2 separate regions of the Homo sapiens genome follow, and region 2 is linked to region 1. Evidence: promoter capture Hi-C in 16 types of primary human blood cells and fetal thymus (Javierre and others, 2016). All regions are on one chromosome and are shown on one strand. Each heading gives the region's core, a stretch centred on a gene start or on the middle of the fragment in contact. The rest is flanking DNA. Distances are from core to core; before and after follow the strand shown.

Region 1 (5,942 bases), core at 1,547-4,046:
TACTTATCCTCACAACAACCCTGTGAGGTAGGTGGGTGATCTCTATCATCATTTTACAGGGGGTGTTTTTGAGGAATTGAGTGAAGTGTCTTGCCCCAGGTCACAGAGCAAGTCTTCAGGCAGAATTAGGATTAGATGTCCTGATCTTCTGGCCTAAACTCTGATTCCTTACTGGGCTACCTATTTTAAAAGTCTGAACTCATTAATCCTTTATGAAGAACATTAAACAAGTCTTAATGCCACAGTTAGAAACAGCCAACTATTACACAAACTTACTAATTCGATTCCACCAGTTCAACCAGGCAGATTTATTGGTCACCAAACACCTAATTAAACAAAAGAGAACTTTACAGAATAAACATTTTACTTTGATATTTAAGCTTAACTGCTTCAAACAATTTTAAAAATCAAAATAAACAACTAATATATTTTCAAGATCATGTATAAGAACACAATGAAACAAGCTGGAAAAGTCTTGGCTTGCAAAGGAAATCAACTTAAATTCCATTTTCAGATAATTAATAACTTAACCTTGCTAAAATTGAGAACAACCATTTGAAGTTAGAAGAGTGGGCCGGGAGCGGTGACTCATGCCTGTAATCCTAGCACTGTGGGAGGCCGAGGTGGGCGAATCACCCGAGATCCGGAGTTCGATACCAGCCAGGCCAACATGGCGAAATCCTGTCTCTACTAAAAAATGCAAAAATTAGCTGGGCGTGGTGGCACACACCTGTAATCCCAGCTCAGGAGGCTGAAGCACGAGGATCGCCTGAACCCGGGAGGCGGAGGTTGTAGTGAGCCGAGATAGGACCACTGCACTCGGCCTGGGCGACAGAATGAGACTGTCTCAAAAAAAAAAAAAAAAAAAAAAGAGTGTACATTTCTCAAAGTTTAGCTTTTTTTTGGCGGTTCTACAGTGCTCAAACTCTGACATGAAGCCGCCGCTCTTTTTTTTTTTAAGAGGAGGCCTCGCTCTGTTGCCCAGGATGGAGTGCAGTGGCGCGATGTCGGCTCACTGCAACCTCTGCCTCCTGGGTTCAAGCGATTCTCCTGCCTCAGCCTCCCGAGTAGCTGGGATTACAGGCGTGAGCCACCACGCCCAGCTAATTTTTTTTTTTTTAATATATTTTAGTAGAGACAGAGGTTTCACCATGTTGGCCAGGCGGGTCTCGAACTCCAGACCTCAACTGATCTGCCCACCGCTCTTCATTCTTGACCCTTAACTCATTAAATACGATATGTCTCTCGCTGACTACTCAGAACCTTTAAAAACGTGGTTGAAGCGAAATCTCTCCAGTGTTTGTGACATGGCAAAGCATGCTTCCCCCAACCCAAACAAAAACCTAACAAATGCAAAAACGAGCCTCCAGAGACAGAAAAAAGAAGGCAGCTAAAGTGAAAAAGCCACAAAAGATGTAGTGTTAGGATAAAAGAGGAAGGTTACTGACACTGGGGGAAATGAACTAAAGAGTATGAAAATAAAACATTTGTTTTCCCCTTAACTGAATGACGATTGAATCTTAGCTCATAGTGTAGAATATACCATCTGGAAAAGCAGAGTAAAACAGGATTAAACTTGCCCTACGACAAACATAAACGACATTTCCCTGTTTAAAGAGTCGAGGTATTTCTTAAAATCATAAAACAAAAAAATTAAGACTTAAGGATGAACTCATCTATGTATAATGCTCATTCACTTCCCCTTTATTTGTATACTTCTAGGGGTCTGGTGGTTCTAGCGACTGAAAATTCCTATCCAAATACCAATGACTTGAATCACATTTTCTAGGACTGCCACAAACAAAAGATTTATTTGGAGACGAATAAAAAGGGGCCGTAGGATTACCTACAAGAAGTTATTTCCTCCTGAGATTGATGGCACAACCTTGTCAGCAAATTGCTGTTGCCTCTCTCAGTTACCAAAAATAACCCGTAACAAACACCAGGCTTGGGTGTAAGTTCTTTCCTAAGGGAACAACTCAGCAGAGCTGTTTATAACTAGAGAGGAGGAAACAATAATCTGCAAGATGTCGCCAGGTCGGCAACGCGAACTGACTTTGACTGGGGGTTCAGCTCTGCTCCTGCGCCGAGGCGAGGACCGCAGGTTTAGCGCGGTCCCACACACACCTGCCCCGGGCGGGAGGGCACCGAGGCGCGCGGGACGCACGAGAGTCCCGCCCTTCCCGGGTCGCCCCCGACCCGGGCAGTCGGATAGGGTCCCGCACCCGGGCCCCACCTCACCTTCACGGGCGGAGGCGGCCTGGGGAGGCCCTCTAAGGCCCCCCTCACGCCCAGCGCGGCCGCCGCCCCGACCTCAGCGATGAGGTTGTGGCCGCAGGCGTGGCCGATGCCGGGCAGCGCGTCGTACTCGCAGAGGAAGCCCAGGTGCAGCGGGCGTGGCGTGGCGCTCGGTGCCCGGGCCTCCGGCGGCTCCCACTCGGCGCGGAAGGCCGTGGGCAGCTGGTAGTGCGGCTGCACTGCCCAGGAGGCCGCGGGCGGCTCCCGCTCGAAGAAGTGCGTCAGCACGCGGTGGGCATGGTGCTCCTCGTAGGCCAGCTCGGGCTGGCTCCAGATCGCGCGGCTCAGGGCCCCCAGCCGCTCGGCCGCCTCGTCGATGCACTCCGCCGAGCGCAGCTTCAGTAGCTCCAGCTCGGAGCGGCCATTGCACGCGCCCCCTTCCACGGGCCGCTCCCCTCCGGGCCTCATGCTGCCCAAGCCCGCTGCCCTCTGCGCCCTCTCGCTCCCTGGCTCGGCCGCAGGTAGCGACCGCCCGCGCACGCGCCCAGAGGCCTCCAGGACCCCGGCGGAGCGCGCACGCGGCCACACAGCTCCCAGGGCACCACCCCCAGTCCCGGGGCCGCCCCCGGCGCCGCGCGGGAAACGCTGGCGGCCGCTCGTACCCTACCAGGCGCTCTGCCCCGCCGTGGGGTTTTGGGGGTGCTGTGGAGAAGGCAGGGCTCGGGACTCTTCCACCTCCTTGGCTGCTCTGGCCTTTGAGTTATGCTCTAAGATTATCGATTACTTTTCCGTTGTTGCTTATTTCCCACAGCAGCAGAATGAGAACGGTTATTAGTTAATAGCCATCAGAGACAGACCAAGTGGAACACAGTCCTCGGAAAAACGCCACTCTGTAGCATTAGTAATTAAAACCTCACAAGGTTTGTATTTCCTGAAGGAGGCCGTCAGTGTCAATGCTGTACTAACGACGGTACTGTACGTAAGTTTCGGTACTGCCCCCACTTTCTTCTCCTTGACATTGTATTACTAAAAGCTGCAGCTACTCTCTACAGTTTTCTCATTGGTTACTAATGTCTGGAACAGCAGCTAGATTATGCAGTAAGCTCTTGGTATGTATTAGCTATTATATAATAATTTATTTGAATAGAGTAGAACTAAAAATTTGAAATGAGTTAAAACCAAAGAGTTAAAAGATTTATGGTAGTAAATATTCATACTGTTTTGTTGATTTGGACAGTTGTCTTGAACAGCTTTGAAAGGGAACATATGACAGGTTTCGTTTATAATTTTAATTGATGCTGAACTCCACTAACATGATATGTGCAGCTGGTGTTACATTATAACTGAGTTTTTTAATTACCCAGTGAAGAAATTCAAGATGTCATGCTCTTGTTTTTCTCCAGAGTGAACCACAAAGTCTGAAAAACTGTTGTTGACGGTATGCCTATTAATAACACTGTAGATGTTTATATTCTGAGGTTTTCCACATATTAAAAGCTTCTATCAGCTCTTCATACCCTATCATCTTTCCTTAATTTGTCTCAACTATGTTAAATGGGACACAATATATTAATGTGATAAACCAAATGAATATTTTGAAAATAAGTCTAAGGGAAGCTAACATGCACGAAGACTATCAACTACTGTTTTTACTACTCTATATGCTAATAATACCAGAGTAAATGTCACATTCCATTCACGTCTGAAAACTTTCTTTCTCAGTTAACACTCCAACAAAAACTCAGCTCTAAAAACAACAAATGTGTTATTAAATTCCTGGGCCCCCTTGGCGATAATAAATCTTTCTCTGGTATTCTGCTGAAGAAAATTACCCTGTATCCACGAGATCCAATATTATCCTGCTCAGTTAGTTGGCTAAAAAAAGGGGAGAAGGGGGGATTGGAGAGCAAAAGCAATAGGTGACATTTGTAGAGCAATTACTCTGTGCTAGGCACTGTTCCAAGGGCTTAGCATTTGTTAACTCATTTAATCCTCACAGCAAACTATGAGGTGGTTAATGTGGTTATTTATCTTCATTTTACAGATGTATGTCCAAGATTATAGAGCTAGTAAGTAGTGGACCCACTGTAGAACAGAAGCCAGAGTCAGCCTCCAGTGGCTGACTTTCAGCCACCATGGTCTATTGCTTGTGTAAACAGACATGCAAATTCATAAATGCATCTCCAGTTTATCTATTCAAATCAGAACCCACAACACTCATTTTGAATAAATTTTACTGCAGCAACTCTGCCTGCTGACATCAGTAGAACCCATGTTTGCCCTCCTCAGGCATCAATAAACAGCAACAGAAAAGGGATGCATATAATTTCATATAGAAGCTGCTATTTATATTGCTTTGCAGGAATTAACAAAGCTGCCACTTGAGGTAGAGGAAAGACAGATTCATTTCAAGCTCTGTTCCTTGTGTATATATGTGGGTGGGTGGGTGGGTATACATGCCCACAGGCACGTATGTATTCAGTTTCTACTGTTGACACCTTGTATTTCTTGCTCATGGTATTTTGCACCCTTGAATTCATTTATTTGATAAACTGTGATAACTTGCTGACCGTTTATCTTCCCCTCCAGGCTTTAAACTCTTTTGTTTTCCCACTGCATTCCCCAGCACCTAACATCTTATGGTCAGCATTTCCTCTGTGTTAATAAATATTTGTTGGCTGATTATTCTTCTTGAATCTAATAAACTAACTGAATAATGGCAGCAATTAACCATTAAACGACACTGACTACCAATAGACATTGTTATGCTTCTTCCTAGACTTCTCAGTCCTTTATGTGGAGCTGGGGGCAGGAAGAATTGCTTCTGGAAGCTGATGGAGTTGGACATGTGGCTTTCTAGAATCTGGTCAGCTCATAAATTCTTACTATTACTTTCATTTGTACCCATAATATTCATACAACTGTCTACCCTATCTATGTGCTACTGGTAAGGAACCTGTATGTTTTTATTAGAAACAAAAAAAAATGTATACAAGCTCCCTTCCTTTAGCTGGTGCTGGATCTGAGGAAACAATACAATATCCAGAATTTAGTATTAAGATGTATAACCTTTTTGGGGGGGTGAGAGGAGTGCAGATAGTTCTCTCTTGAGGACTGGTTTTAAAGTATATAAATGTTCTTTCTTGGCTCCTGATGAGAAAAAAGGGGAAAAAATATATAAAGATTCCTCTTCTTTCCTGGCTGCTTAGAAAACCAGCTGTCATCACAACTGACTCAATAACTTTGAGAACAGGACATTCATGACAAATGAGTGCTGTGGTGGAAAGAGTAGATCAAAAATTTCCTTTACCCTGGAAAAGCAACTAAAATACAGCCAAATTGTACAACTATACTGGGTATTATTTTGGGCTTCAGATTCAGAACTCCTTTTGAAAAGGCAGCAGGCTTTTGTATGGTTTATATTCTTTGAATTAAGATAGAAATAATAAAATAAAATCCCCAACATGGCAAAGCATGAGCTCATGGCAAAGCATGAGCTAAATGAGAAAAAAAAGTTTTTGAAAACAGAAAAAGGAATGGAATGAAAAATAAAATGAAGAAAATTAAAGGTAGAGAAAAAGTAAATAGAAGTACCAGAGAGCTTCAGTGCAGGATTTCAGGAATGAAAAGCAAACAAACAAAAATAATTGTGGGGGGCCGGGCGCGGTGGCGCACACCTGTAATCCCAGCACTCTGGGAGGCCG
Region 2 (5,865 bases), core at 1,068-3,567, 2.0 Mb after region 1:
TTGTGACAATAAAGTGCATACAGCAACGGAGATTCTTTTGTATGTGATCACGTATCCCCGACATAATAAAGAAAATATTTCAATATTTGGAAGCTAAAAAATAAGTGAAAATGTAATCTACTCAGCTAAAATGGTCAACCATTGTTCTACGTTAAGATCAGTATTTTTCCAAAACGAATTCTCTGTAATGATACACTCACAAGTTAACTCTAAATATGACCTGTGTAAATTGTGTCTTCTTTTTCCTCCTCAAGACAATCAAATCAAAGTCTTCACCAGAGCCAGCAACACTACCTTGAAATTTTAAACCTAAGTGTAAGGCTCGTAATGAAGTGCAAATGTAGTCCCAAACTCTCCGATTTTCACCATGGATGAAATGATTTTCATCACTAGCAAACAGTGTTATTAACATTCCAAATTCTGGTTAGAATGCAGTCACTGGTGAGCAGTGCCCTTGGGCAAGCAAAGAAAAGATTTGAAACTACCCAAAGCACAGATCCACATGAACCTCAGTCTTCTCCCACTTCATCAGGAAGCCAAATAGGAAGGACTCCAAGAAACAGGGGTGAGGGGGTGATCGGGACAGAAAGGATAGTGGAAATCATACTCCTCGAAGGGCGAAAGCAAATGAGAAACGGACTCTGGAAAAACCGCCCCAAAAGGACACTCAACCTGAGACAGATGTACAGGCACAGCTCCTCTACACTAAGGAGATAAAGCTTTACCACAGAAGTGATGCACCAAGCAAGCAAGTATGGGCAGGAGGGGACAACCTCCGCCAAGCACCCCCTCCCGAACGTCTAGCTCAACTAGAAGGGGTCGGCGGGGACTGCTCCTCCGAACATCAACAAAGGCCCCTTCAGTCCTAAGGCGAAACTCGAACAACAAAGGCCCGGAGACAGCCAGGACAGGGCCGGGGCTGGGGGGCGGGACGGATGAAAGCAGGGGAAGGCAAAGGAATCAAACCAGTGGGGGCGGAGGCCCGTCGGAGTGGGAAGCAGAGGCGCAGAGGCGGGAGGCGCGGTAATCCCCAGTGCACAATAAAAGGAGGAGGAGGAAGAGAACCTGGCCTCCATTCTCCTACTCTCTCCAATCCGCACCGTGTACATTTCCTCAGCCGCGGGGACCGCGCAGTCCCGAGTTCAGGGAAGGAAAGGGGAGGGGGGATTTTCCGCCTTGACCGCAACTCCCTTCCCCCAGCCAGGAGCTGCAGACGACAACAACCGCCACAACTGCAGCCACACAAAGGCGCCTTCCTTCTACTCCCGCTCCCACCCAGGCGGAGGCGCCGATGATGCCAAGGAAGCGGCGACCACCTCTCGGCCGCCTAGCGCTCGCTCGCCCTCTTCCCCCTCTAGCTGGGGAAAGGGGGAGGGGACCACCGGGCGCCCTCACCTGGCACAGCTGCTGACAGTAGTCGGTGGCCGCTTCCACGGCCGGTACCCGGCTCTCCCGCAGCTGTAGCTCCAGCTCCTGGAGCCGCTCGCCCAGGCGCTGCAGCTCCGCGACGCAGCCGCCTTCGCCGCAACTCAACCTCTCCTGCTCGGCCTCTTCGTCCGCCATCTTCACACCCCGCTCCGTCGCGTACGCACCTGGGTCACGTGATAACACAATGCCACGTTCGGCGGGGTCACGTGCCGGGCGCGCTTGCACGGCGCCGAGCACGTACAAAGGGCCCGATGGGGAAGATATGGGGGTGGGGAGAGTGGCGCGAGAGAGCCCGAGGGAGGTGAAGGCAAGGGGAAAGGAGAAGGGCGGGGTTGGGGCGGTGCGGAAAACGGCGGTTTACTTACCCCGAGCGGGAAGTGGGCAGCAGCGGCCGAAAGGGGCGGGCTGGTGAAGGCCTGCTCTCGGTCACGTGGGCGCCGCGACGGGAAAAAGCCTAGGGAGGGGCGACCCTCTCCGGCGTCCCGATCCCGGCGTGGCTTTCCCCAGTCCACGAAGTCTTCTACGGACATATCCTCCTGTTCCCCAAGAGGATGGCACAGGGAGAGTTCTGAGTGGTCTCGGGCAATGGCTGCATTTGCTGTTGGCCTGTAAGCAGGCCAGAAGCAGAGGAAGAGAGAGAAGGTAAAACCCGCCCATGGACCGCAAGCGTGAGAGCCAAGGCAGGACTATGAACTGTCAAAATTGTCTCTGACTTCTCACCAGGCCGGAGAGGAGGGATCTAGTGCGTGAGGTACCAGATCTCGTCTCACTTGACTCTCCTCCTCTTCAGCACCAAGAACGCCTGTCCCCTGGAAACACATTCTCTAGGGGGTGGAGGCAACAAAGGAAAAGAACAATTGGGTCAGAGCAGAATGAGGTTCAATCCTCAGTCTGGAGAACGGAGCAAATTCATGAAAAGCATAGTTTAAAAGAAGTCAGAATATGAACAGACCAGATGACTTTTAAACCACGAAAACATTTCTAGAATAAGTGATAACTAACTACTCTGTTTCACCGTGATTTAGACTCTACTACACTCTACAGAAATCACCAACAATGACAACAGGCTATATATGAAAGCTATTGAAAAGAAAGTAGGTCAAGGAAAAAAAAAACACCAATAAGGACTCCATTAAAAATCATAACGGAGGAGAGGAAATTGATGCTAAAATAAAACAATATTGTCGAGAATTATTATAAATATCTACAGCATTTTTTTTTCCTAATGCTACAAATAGAGGTAGCATTCTGAACCACATTTTACTTACAAGCTGAAAAGAATTAATACTTGGCACTTGAACAAAAGAGTAGAAGAGGTGCTACAAAAATCCAAGAGCTTAACCCTAAAGTTCTTAATAAAACTAATATTTTTTTTACCGTTAGAGCATTAGACAAAAGACCTATCTCTCTTGCAACTGAATAGTCTACAGAAATTTAGAAACAATGATATTGATGAGGCACCCAGTCTTTTCATTTACTCTGAGTGAAGTATATTTTTTTAGTACAAGGATCTAAAATAAAAATACTTCCCATTGTGGGCAGCGTCCTCTTCAAAAGATTTCTAGTAATTAATGGAAAGTGTTCTACATACTATGTTGTCCAGAATAAATGTTTTATAACGCATCAGTGATGGTGATGTTTTTAAAGCGGCATTATATAAGGTGACCAGGCACAGTTAAACCCCTTATGAAAAACAGTATCAGTTAATATTACATATTAACAAGGTAGAATCTTCAAATGTTTAATCTTCAAATGTTTACTCATGGAAGAGACTGGGAAGTACATTCAAAGGCTGAGAAGAGAGGATATAATAGTATCACTGAGTTGAAAAAGGAACAATTAAGGCAGCTAATGATTTTTAATATTTTCAGTTCACTTTCCCAAGTTAAGTATTTTAGATACCCAAACCAGGTTTCACCAGTTTATGTTATCTTAGGATTCCAGTGAAAAAATGCAAAAAGGGAAATATGAGGTTAGCCAAATGTACCCGTAAATCCAAGGTAAGGTATCACAGGTTAGCAAGCTCATTTCCACTTCAAGTATAATGGTTTACACCACACCTAATCTATAGAAAGAAAGAAAAAATGGGGGTTGAGGGGTGGGAGACATATATATCCAGATATTGATTTTTAAGAGAATTGCCTGATAATGTAGGTCATTCCTACCTCTTGCACATAACAACCCTAAAACTATGGAGACTTGATTAGCAAATTGATTCTGAGCACCATTACTATCTGGTAAATGTCCATCAGCATGGATGGCCATGTCTTTATGTTTATTTAGTATCTGTGAACCCTATGTCCACATTCCTCCATTTCTTCTCCTTTGCACACACATAGAAATATTTAGAGCCTACAGGAAATGTAAGGATTGGGGGTGAGTGGTGTAATTAACACTCATTTATTGTGTACTTGATATTTGCAGGCACTACTTGGTTTGGGACAAGTCAGAGGCGAATAAAAGCTCTTCCTGCCTTGAAGAAGCTTACAGTTTTGTGGGAAAATGATCTGCAATGGGAATACATACGATATGACAAATGTTCTATTATGAAAATGCATGCCTGTATTCAACTTAGAACATCAAAGTAATCTCAGATACTAACAAGAATGTCCAACGAATCTCTACATAAGTGCAGGCTTTTTTTTTTTTTTTTTTTTTTAATGAGAAGGATTGAAAATACTATCCCGTGACAGGTCAACCTTGTCTTGGAAATCTCAGAAATCTCAATCTTATCCATAGAAAAGTCATGACTTCTGTGCTTATGTCCATTTGTTCTTTAAATACCAAACTGTCAGCTCATAGGAACCATTTACACACACACACTGACACACACACAAACACGCACACCCCTACTTACTGAGATGTTCCTGGGGAGATTCGAAGACCTGTTCCATTGAGAAAACAAGAATAAGCCCCTGGGGCAAAAGACTCCGCGTCTCTGGGGAACTCAGTATCCGCGCCGCGAGCACCCATGCCCATTTTGAACACAACGCGACTGCTAAGGACGTGGTGTAATCATATGGACCTTCACTCCCAAGAGACTCGATTTCAGAGAAAATCTGGGAGACAAATTTAGATCCCTACCCGCACCCACGCGATCAATAAAGCTGGGGAGACCTTTGGGGGAGGGGACAGATGTGCTTGCATCCGGGCCGTGCGTGCCTGCTTCACGGGTTTTCCGGGCAGCACCGGCCCGCACACGCCGGTGCACTCTTTTTCTGGAATTCTTGAAATAGCCGGGCCTGAGGACAGTAAGGGAGCTGAGTTGTGTCTGCTACAGACAAGCGGCGCAGAGCCTGGGGGCCAAGCCAGGGATGCAGGGAGCGCGGCGTTAGCGGATGACGGATAGCTCAGGGCTAAGGCCTGGCAGGTCCTTCCTACCCCCGACCCAGTACACCCCGCAGCCCCGCCCTCGCCCCAGCACGCGAGGTGAAAGCGCGAGGCCCGGGGATGGCGGAGAGCGTGCGCCACTATCGGGGCGCTGTCTCTTGCCCCGCTCTCGCCCTGGGCCGGAGAACGGAGAAGGTCCGCAGGCCTCGGGCCACGGAGGGCACCAGATCGGTCCGCTCTGCTCCGCTAACCCAGCCTGCGCCCCTCCACCCCGCCAAGGCCCTGCTGGGCGCTGCGCCGGTTGCTCGCGTCCTCTGTTGTCGCGGAGCCGCCGCCGCCGCCGCCCGCGAACCAGCAACGCCGACACCCAGCAGTTGCAGGCCCGGCGTTTGCCGCCGCGGTTTTTCCACCCAGCACTGAGGATCAAGCCCGCTGTAGCCTGGCTGCGACTCCCCGCTTGGGAGCAGAGGCCGCCAGGGGCCTCCAGGCCGAGAGATTCTGGAGCCTTTCCAGGGCGCGGCGGGGAGCGGGGCCTCCGGAAACCCACCCCGGGGATGCTGGAGTCTGTCCTGCAGAGGCCGTGGCGCGGGCACTGCTGCCTGATTTCGAAGAGGCTCCATCAACCTACTCTCTTCCAAAGGGCTGGGCAGCCCAGCCACAGACAGGCAGCCTCTGGATCTCAGAAGTGAGGGACGGAGTCTATCCTGGGTTTGGTCCAGTAGAAACCCCCCACCCCCACCCCCAGAGTCTGGGAACCAGTGCTGTGCCCACAGATGCAAAGAGAAAGAGCATGGGTTAAAGCGCTATTGGGATCGGTTAGACACCACACTTTTCCAAGGAAGACATTTTCTTCGAGAGGAACAGCAAAAGGAGTCAATATAATGTTAAAAATATTAAGGCAGGTGCTGTGCCACATGTTGAAGTGATTCCAAAAGCAGAGAAAACATGGGACTCACATTTAAGAGGATTAATTGTAGCCTTTGAGTTTTTCCCAGAAAAAAAAAAAAGGCTAGCATATATATTTTCATATATTTATATGAACAGGTAATTAAATAAGGAGGGATTTTAAAAAATTGTCTATTTGGATATCGTTTTCCTTTCCATTTG

The links. Contacts are between HindIII fragments. The CHiCAGO score rates a contact against its expected background, and 5 or more counts as called.
Region 2: a contact is called between a fragment that was not itself captured here and the fragment with the promoter of PM20D2 in region 1, in 2 of 17 cell types (total B cells and fetal thymus). The highest score is 6.2, in total B cells.

What each region holds. Positions count from the first base shown.
Region 1 is chr6:89,142,909-89,148,850 of GRCh38, reverse strand. It overlaps PM20D2 (peptidase M20 domain containing 2), which reads right to left and starts at 2,796. Exons shown (of 7, transcript NM_001010853.3): 1 at 2,242-2,796. The coding sequence starts at 2,706. It overlaps LOC101929004 (a long non-coding RNA gene), which reads left to right and starts at 1,985. Exons shown (of 4, transcript XR_942766.4): 1 at 1,985-3,158; 2 at 5,018-5,104. RefSeq lists a silencer at 2,050-2,979. The HindIII fragment of the contact is 3,355 bases long and covers 383-3,737 here.
Region 2 is chr6:87,151,290-87,157,154 of GRCh38, reverse strand. ZNF292 (zinc finger protein 292) reads right to left here and starts at 1,590. Exons shown (of 8, transcript NM_015021.3): 1 at 1,396-1,590. The coding sequence starts at 1,563. LOC124901355 (translation initiation factor IF-2-like) reads left to right here and starts at 1,908. Exons shown (of 2, transcript XM_047419630.1): 1 at 1,908-2,179; 2 at 3,853-5,865. The coding sequence starts at 4,767. The coding sequence ends at 5,447. RefSeq lists enhancers at 164-771, 1,283-1,622, 1,893-2,052, 4,566-5,066, 5,298-5,367 and a silencer at 4,978-5,097. The HindIII fragment of the contact is 3,192 bases long and covers 722-3,913 here.